Regions from separate parts of the Homo sapiens genome. Here all the other regions are linked to region 2. Evidence: promoter capture Hi-C in human tissues and cell types (Jung and others, 2019). All regions are on one chromosome and are shown on one strand. The core of a region is centred on a gene start or on the middle of the fragment in contact, and the rest is flanking DNA. Distances in the headings are between cores, read along the strand shown. Region 1 has its middle 55 kb from the start of EVX1-AS. Region 2 holds the start of EVX1 (even-skipped homeobox 1). Region 3 has its middle 38 kb from the start of EVX1-AS.

What was found. Contacts are between HindIII fragments. The study calls those that stand out against the background at their distance.
Region 1: a contact is called between a fragment that was not itself captured here and the fragment with the promoter of EVX1 in region 2, in 7 of the 25 tissues and cell types used here (adrenal gland, bladder, liver and 4 more).
Region 3: a contact is called between a fragment that was not itself captured here and the fragment with the promoter of EVX1 in region 2, in 2 of the 25 tissues and cell types used here (bladder and thymus).

What each region holds. Positions count from the first base shown.
Region 1 is chr7:27,300,755-27,303,454 of GRCh38, forward strand. No RefSeq gene overlaps it. Among named protein-coding and RNA genes, the nearest start is that of EVX1-AS, 55 kb to the left of the region's middle. The HindIII fragment of the contact is 4,293 bases long and covers 1-2,700 here.
Region 2 is chr7:27,241,431-27,244,130 of GRCh38, forward strand. EVX1 (even-skipped homeobox 1) reads left to right here and starts at 1,372. Exons shown (of 3, transcript NM_001989.5): 1 at 1,372-2,027. The coding sequence starts at 1,601. EVX1-AS (EVX1 antisense RNA) reads right to left here. Exons shown (of 4, transcript NR_120507.1): 2 at 485-580; 3 at 119-211; 4 at 1-20. RefSeq lists an enhancer at 990-1,867. The HindIII fragment of the contact is 9,702 bases long and covers 1-2,700 here.
Region 3 is chr7:27,283,807-27,286,506 of GRCh38, forward strand. No RefSeq gene overlaps it. Among named protein-coding and RNA genes, the nearest start is that of EVX1-AS, 38 kb to the left of the region's middle. The HindIII fragment of the contact is 6,744 bases long and covers 1-2,700 here.

The sequences.
Region 1 (2,700 bases), core at 120-2,619, 59 kb after region 2:
TTTTTTTTTTTTCTTTTCAGATTTGGCTAAGTGTCCCTTTTCTCTCTTTCTCAAGTCAGTTCTTGATACTTTTTGTAGATCAGATTGCTCTTAGTAGAGGTTACCAGTGACCACATATGATGAAGGTGACCATCCTTGGTGACCCTACAATAAGGCTTCCTTGTCATCTCTAGTGCAACCACAATAATATGGGTATGTGAATACTGATTTTTCTTTAGAAAACCTATTTTATGGCAAACACTGACAGAAACCCCTTCTCCATAGTTATTTTCCAGTTAGAGTAGCCATGTGACACTGTTATGACCATAACATAAGTGGAAGTCTGTTGGACACAGTTTCTGGGAAAACTTTTGTTTTTCTGGTAAAAACAGACAAATCCAGCTGGCCTGTGCCTTGCCTTTACTTCTATCTTCTTGTGTGGAATGTAGATGAAATGGCTTGAGGTGCTGCAGCCATCTTGTAATCATGAAATGACAAGCAATTGAATAGAAGCCAACACACCAAATAAATTAAAAAAATACATTTCATATGTTAAGGCACTATTCTTCAGGTTTTGTGCAATCCCACTTTGTGGATTAGGAAACTGAAGTGAGAGTGGTTGAGTGACTTGCTCAAGATCAAACAAGTCCTCTGACTTTAAGCACTGTGCTTTTTCTATGTATTTTGTTAACAAGTCAGAGTCGATACTTTTTACTGTTATTGTGTTCTTACTAAATGCCAGAGTCTATGCTAATCTTTTTATATTCATTACTTTATTTAACCTTTACAAAAGCCCTGTGAAGTAGTGCTATTAACTGAATTCTGTGGCCCCAAGATTCATATGTTGAAGCCCTAACCTCCAGTGTGACTGTATTTGGAGAAAGGGCCTTTAAGAGGTGACTAAGGTTAAATGACATCATAAGGGTGGGACAATAATTTAATAGAATTAGTGTCCTTATAAGAAGAGACACCAGAGAACACCTTCTCCAACCCCTACCATATGAGTTGGCCATCTACAAGCCAGGAAGAGGTTCCTCTCCAGAACCTGAATTGGCCATCACCTTAATCTTGCATTTCCCAGTCTCCAAAACTGTGATAAATCGATTTCTGTTGTTTAAGCCACCCAGTCTGTGGTATTTTGTTACAGCAGCCCGAGCAGACTAAGAGAAGTAGATACTATTATTATGTCCCTTTTACAAATGAGGAAAATGAAGCTTAGAAAAGTTAAGTATTCTCAAGGCCACACAGCTAGTAAGTGGTACTTTTCCTTTCTTCAAGAGACAACATCCTTGTGGCCAATATGTGGTCAGTCCTGTTAATATGTGTATACCAGATTATTTCAATTTTTTAAAGTAGTAAAATAATACTTCAGAACAGTGGTTAGTAAATTTTTTCTGAAAAGAACTAGCTAGAAAATAGTTCAGGTTGGCCGGGCACAGTGGCTCATGCCTGTAATACCAGCAGTTTAGGAGGCTGAGGTGGGTGGACCACCAGAGGTCAGGAGTTTGAGACCAGCCTGGCCAACATGGTGAAACCCCATTTCTACTAAAAATACAAAAATTAGCCAGGCCTGGTGGCATACTCCTATAATACTAGCTACTCAGGAGGCTGAGGCTGGAGAATCGCTTGAACCCAGGGGGCAGAGATTGTAGTGAGCCGAGATTACACCATTGCACTCCAGTCTGGGCGATAAGAGCAAAACTCTGTTTCTCAACAACAACAACAACAAAAAGAAAATAGTTCAGGTTTTGTGGACCATATGGTCTCTGTTGGAACTACTCAATTCTGCACTGTGAAGGCAGCCATGGACAATTCGAGAGTGAATGGGCATGGCCATACTCAGATAAAGCTTTACTTGCAAAATCAGGTAGTGAGCTGGATTTGGCTCATGCCCAGGTCATGGTTTGCTGATTATTGCTTTAAAGCAATGTTAAAATGGCAATGCTTTTAAAATGAGACGTGCTGGGTTTGAATTCTGCTGTGTGACTTTGGGTAGATTCTATAACCTGGGCCTCATTTTCCAAGTTAGAATGGTAACACCTCTGCCAGCCACCAGGGTTGTCGTTGGGATCATGAAAGGTACTAGATGTGGAGGAGCTCTGAAGAAGAGCAAGTGCTTATGCAGATACAATTTGATATGGGTATAATTTGATATCTTTCAGAGTGCTCCTGGAAGCCCTAACCCAGGCAGAACATACTTAGTTTAAAGCCTGGACTCAGCTGAGACTGATATGGGTCACTCAGGGAAGGAAACTCCTCCTTGTACCGGGGGTCTTCAGTGCCCATCAGGCTATAACCTTCAGTGAGATGTGGAGTGGAGCCAGCCCTTGGGTGGATTCCAGGATCCCTGGCTCCCCGGTGGAGAGCTCTCTTCGGCTTTGAGCCTGCATCTTCAGTGCCGGAGCTATTTTTCTGAGCTAGGGAGGGCACCATGGGGAGTGATACTCCTGGTAAGGAAGAAACAGGGCAGCCTGCATCTCTGCTGAACACAAGTCTAAACATGAACAAGGATTCTGGCTGCTTGCCCATGCCGCATGAAACCAGGCTGAGGGCGTTAAGGAGAAGTCAGACAAATGTCTGCCCTTCCTTTCATTCTTTTTGCTTTTGCTCTTTGAAAGTATCTTTTTTTTTTTTTGAGACAGAGTCTCACTCTGTTGTCCAGGCTGGAGTGCAGTGGTGTGATCTTGGCTCACTGCAACCTCTGCCTCCTGGGTTCAAGCA
Region 2 (2,700 bases), core at 122-2,621:
GTTTTATACCAGCTTCTTCCCTGGGAGAGGAGCCAAGAGAGGCCTATGGCAGCTTCCAGATATTAAGTTCCACAACCCCTGCCCCCACCTCCAGCCCTTCATCAGAGTCCCTACTTACTTGCTGTTTTAGGGCATTTTCAGCGACTTCACTCTCTTCTACCTCAAACGCCATCCACTTTTGGAGACAGGTACCACTGCCCCTAGGCAGGGACTTGGGAGAGGACCTTATGAGTCAAACCTCTATGAACCCCAACCTTTTTGTACTCGGGGAGGCTGAACCCCTGCCCAAAATAGCGCGGTGAAAGCTACTGCCTTCTCCCAAGTAGGGGCCTCCAGTACTGCCACAGCAGGGGCCGCATTCCTGGCGCCTCTTCATTCGAAAAACCTCTTTCCAGGAGACTTCGCTGATTCTGAACGAATACTTTAAAATATGGGCAAGGGAAAAAAAAAGACAACTCTTAGAAACTCTCCCCACCCAACATACCTGGAGTGCAGGCGAGGTCCAGGCAAACGGGAAAGCGACTTCTTGTACGAATAGCCATCTCAAGATGAAGCCAGGCTGTGGAAAACTTAAGGCCATCTAGATGGGAAGGAGGTATTTAAAAGAAATCAGCACACACTCTTACAGAAGCCAAGGCGGGTCTTTAAATTAAAAAATAATAATAAGGTATTTATTTCTTGCCCCTTAGGGAAGAAAAATAGCAAAGTTTGGTTCGCAGGAGTAAGGAGACAGAGGTGGGTAGGGAGAGGGAGGAGAAAAGAGGAAAAGATGGCCCAGCCTCAAGCTCTCCAGTCAACTTGGGGCGGGGGAATACATTTTTCCGTAGCTTGTAAAAAGACTTTTCAGCCAGTTTGAGGTTAGCTGCCAGGGGCAGACAGTTGTAATAATGCCGACAGAATTGAGGCTTGTAAGCCGGGCTTCACACTTCTAAAATGCAGTTATGGATTCTTTCATCGGTGTTAGATCAAGGCACCAAGTTAAGAAAACAAAAGTCAAAACAACAATAAAAGAAAAAATCAAAAGCTTATTTAATTACCGAGTCCCGCTGCCCCTGCGGAACTCGCCGCGCGCGTTAAGCTCTCTTTTCTTTCTGCGGAATTCCATTTGCATCCCCTCTGCCTGGGTGTCTCCCTCTCTCAGTGTGTGTGTCTCTCTGTCTGTTTTCACACTCTCCTCCCCAATCGAGCGAGGCCCACACCTGGCGCATCACTGCCGAGCCATTAGCTGCGGGTTTCCTTTCATCTTCGCTGTGGCAGACGTTTCTATTTATCCACTTGCGCTCGCCGAGTGGCGTCACCAGCGGTACTGTAATGACGATTGCAGCAGGAGGATGACAGCTTAGAAAGAAGAGGGCAATGGGGCTTCCTCCCAGAGGCGGTGCGGCACAGAGGAGCGCTCGCTTCACAAGGTGACCCTAGCTCCCACCGCCACCGCCGCGGTCGCGGTCCAGACCGCGCTCCAGCAGCTCCGCGCCCTCCCAGGCACCCGGCCTTTCTTTCTCCCTCTTGCAACCAAGATCCGTCCGGCCGCTGGAGACCCAGGGAGCCGGGGTTAGGAACTCACTTGGGGCTTTCCCCTCCCCCACCGGAGAGCCCCGGGATGGAGAGCCGAAAGGACATGGTTGTGTTTCTGGATGGGGGTCAGCTTGGCACTCTGGTTGGCAAGAGAGTCTCAAATTTGTCCGAAGCCGTGGGCAGCCCGCTGCCGGAGCCGCCCGAGAAAATGGTGCCCCGTGGTTGCCTGAGCCCTCGGGCCGTCCCTCCGGCCACCCGGGAGCGCGGCGGGGGAGGCCCGGAGGAGGAGCCGGTAGATGGACTCGCAGGCAGCGCGGCGGGGCCGGGCGCCGAGCCCCAGGTAGCTGGGGCGGCCATGCTCGGCCCAGGACCCCCGGCCCCCTCAGTCGACAGCCTCTCCGGACAGGGGCAACCCAGTAGCTCGGACACCGAGTCGGATTTCTATGAAGAAATCGAGGTGAGCTGCACCCCGGACTGCGCCACCGGGAACGCCGAGTACCAGCACAGCAAAGGTAGCCACCGTGCCCCTCCGCTCCCCGGGCCTCCCACTGCGCCCACCCTTCACTTCGGCGCAGGCCAGGAGGAAGACACTCCCTTCCCCTAGGGCAGGATGGCTGGGGGGACCCACCTGAGCAACTCTCTCTGCTATCTGCGTTCTGGCGGGGGTCTCCTACTGTGTTCTGGCATTGGCGGGACTGAGGGTGACAGCAGTGCCTTGAGTGCGGGGTGCTGAGGGGGCGGATGCAAGTCCTGGACTTGGGGGATTCGAAGCTCACCCCAAGCACCCAGTGTTTCAACTGCTCGGGGAATGCTTCAATTGCTCGGGGAAGACACTTTCCCCAGGCGAGGGCAAGATCAAACGCCGATCCGGGCAGTTTGTGGCTGGCAGGGTGTAAGAGGCATGGAGGCGCGGAAGCCAGGAGTCCATAAAGGACCGTAAAATTGCGGCCCACTTGGGCAGCCCGGGTGCTGCAGCCCTCCGACCAGTTTGCACGTCGGTCAGAGGTCCAAATTACCTTGTCACTTCCCGGGCTTCGCGGCGCCAGGTCGGAAATGGTCCCAATGGTCTAATTGCCTTTGGTCTCCGGTTGCATTTGAAAAGGCAGAGATCGGGTCCTCCCCCCTTCCCCTTTCCTTCCTAGTCCCACTTCTCCACCCAAAGGAAAAGGAGCTGCAGGGGGCTGG
Region 3 (2,700 bases), core at 185-2,684, 42 kb after region 2:
TTCCCAGGTGTGTGCTTTCTATCACTGAACTTGCCAGTAACTTGGTGTGCCCTTTTAAGCTGCAGACTAAGGAATATTCCTTCCATTTGTTTAATCATTACCTCTCTTTCATTGGTTTTTCTCCCTTTAGAATTCCTATTACTCACAAAATAGATATCCGTTATGCCTTTTATCTTTTTTCCTCTATCTCTTTATATTTTTGTTATTGAGACATTTCTTCCTTTTGGCCTCTAATTTATACCTCCACAGTGACCAGCTATCCTTTCCCTCAATTCATTTACTAAATTTTTCAATGAAGAAAAGCATACTTTAATTTCCAAAATGTCATTTTATGCTATAATTAAAGGCTGTGCTCTCATTAATTTTTAGATAGACTTAAGTAACAGACTATTTAGGTAGACCCTTACTTTTACTAAGACCTAGTGGAGTTCTTTGGTCTTGTCACAGTTAAGGATGTAGATGGAATCTTGGCCACCTAACCTCTGATCCACCTTTTCCTCCATCTGTGGGGCTATTCACGAGAAACAATTTTGATGTTGTGCAAATAAAACCTACTCTGTAGATCTGAAGGTAAGGCATTTATTTCTGTTGACTTTTCTAAAAGTATGTAGGATAATATTTTAGAGTTCATGGATGTATAATGGAAATAGCCACATGAATTTGTGCTATGAGGATAACTCGGGAAGGACGGCCATCAGACATTTCTGATTTCCCTCAAATATTCTTTCCTAAATTTCACCAAGTTCCATTCTAATATGATTCATAGGCAGTGTCTCCGAATTGTCTCTGCTCCTCTTGTGATGACTTGAATCATACCACATGACAATTAAATGAAAAGGATAAAACTTTATGGGCAATTACTCTGAAAGTCTCTCCACTCAAAACTTGTGTGGCTTTTGTGCCAACCTACTAGTAATAATTAAGTATGGAAGTTATATTAGGCGGAGTAGATTTAGAGTGCAGTAAAGATTATGGAATAATATGGAGGGACTGGTTATTCCAATGGAGAAGAATGAACATGCTTGTTTTGGGTCCTTTTCCAATTACACATCTGTCTCCTGGATTAGTATTAAAACATTCTGTTTTTTAGCATCCTGGGTGCTTAAATTATTTTATGTCTGTTACTTGATGTTCAAGGTATCCCACCAAGGTAGGGAGGAAGATTTTAAAAATTTCTTTTGCTGCTTCATAGTCGGAAAATTGAAGCATAAAAAAGGTACATATAGTGTCTCTTGGATCCAAGAAGGAAAGCAAACCATTTACTTTCAGGGCCATTACATTATCTCTTTGATTTTGAGGCTCTTTAAGCAAGAGATACAACATGCACTGCCTATATAACTTTTAGACCCAACTCACCACTTGTTCCCCCAACTCAAATCCATTGATGTTGTTAACTCTTTCTTCTCTTTGATATTTTCATGGCATCTGATATTGGTGAATCTTACCCTTACCCTCCTGAAGCCATATCTTCCCCTGGCCTATGAGATATACTCCTTTGAGCATATCTTCTTATGCCTTTGATTACCTTCTGCTTCTTTTTCCTCCTCTCATCATCTAAGACCAGTTCTTTTTTTTTTTTTTTTTTTTTTTTTGACAGAGTCTTGCTCTGTTTCCCAGGCTGGAGTGCAGTGGAGTGATTAGGGCTTACTGCAGCCCCAACCTCCTGGGCTCAAGTGATCCTCCCACCTCAGCCTCCCAAGTAGCTGGGACTACAGGTGTGTATCACCATGCCTGGCTAATTTTTCAACTTTTTGTAGAGATGAGGTCTCACTATGTTGCCCAGCCTGGTCTTGAACTCCTGAGTTTGAGTGATCCTCCCACCCAGCCTCCCAGAGTGCTAAGATTACAGGCATGAGCCACTGCACTTGGCCCCAATTCTTGAGAATGTGTTTGTTCATTCAGCTAATATTTACTGAACACTTATGATGTGTCAAGTACTGTGCTGAAAGGTGGTCATAAAAGGGTGAACAAGAAGGTGATATTCATCTTCCTATAGCTCACATCCTAGTGGCGGAGGCAGACAATAAGAATACAAACATAAAATAATGACTAGTTGTAATAAGTGAAATTAAGCATTGTGATAAGTGCAACTAAGGAAATAAACAAGATTTGGTGAAAGAGAATAATGGGATTTGAGTCCACAAACCCTACTTTAAATAGTGTAGTCTGTAGGTGAGACCTGCTGTAAGAAGGAGCTGCTGGGTGAAATATGGGAAGGGAAATTATCCCCAAAGAGGAAACAGGTGCAGAGTCTCTGAAGCGGGACTGACAGAAGGTCATCATGGGCATGAAATAGTGAGTTAGGAGATGGGCATGAGAAGTACAGTCAGAAGAACAGGACAGGGCTCAGATGATAGTGCAGGGCATGGTAGGCTGAGGAAGGAGTTCAGACTTAATCTAAGTAAAAAGAGAACCTTTGAATAGTGTTAAGTAAGGGAACAATAAGGTCAGAGTACATTTTTAAAAGAATGCTTTGACTGCTGTGTAGAAAATGGGCTTTGGGGAGCAAGTCTGGAAGCAAGGAACTAGTTAGGAAGCTCTAGAACAAGTTTGCCCAACCTGTAGCCCATGGGCCACATGTGGGTCGGGACGGCTTTTTTTTTTTTTTTTCAGGACAGTTTTGAATGCGGACCAACACAAATTTGTAAACTTTCTTAAACATTATGAGAGTTTTTTGCAATTTTTTTATAGCTTATCAGC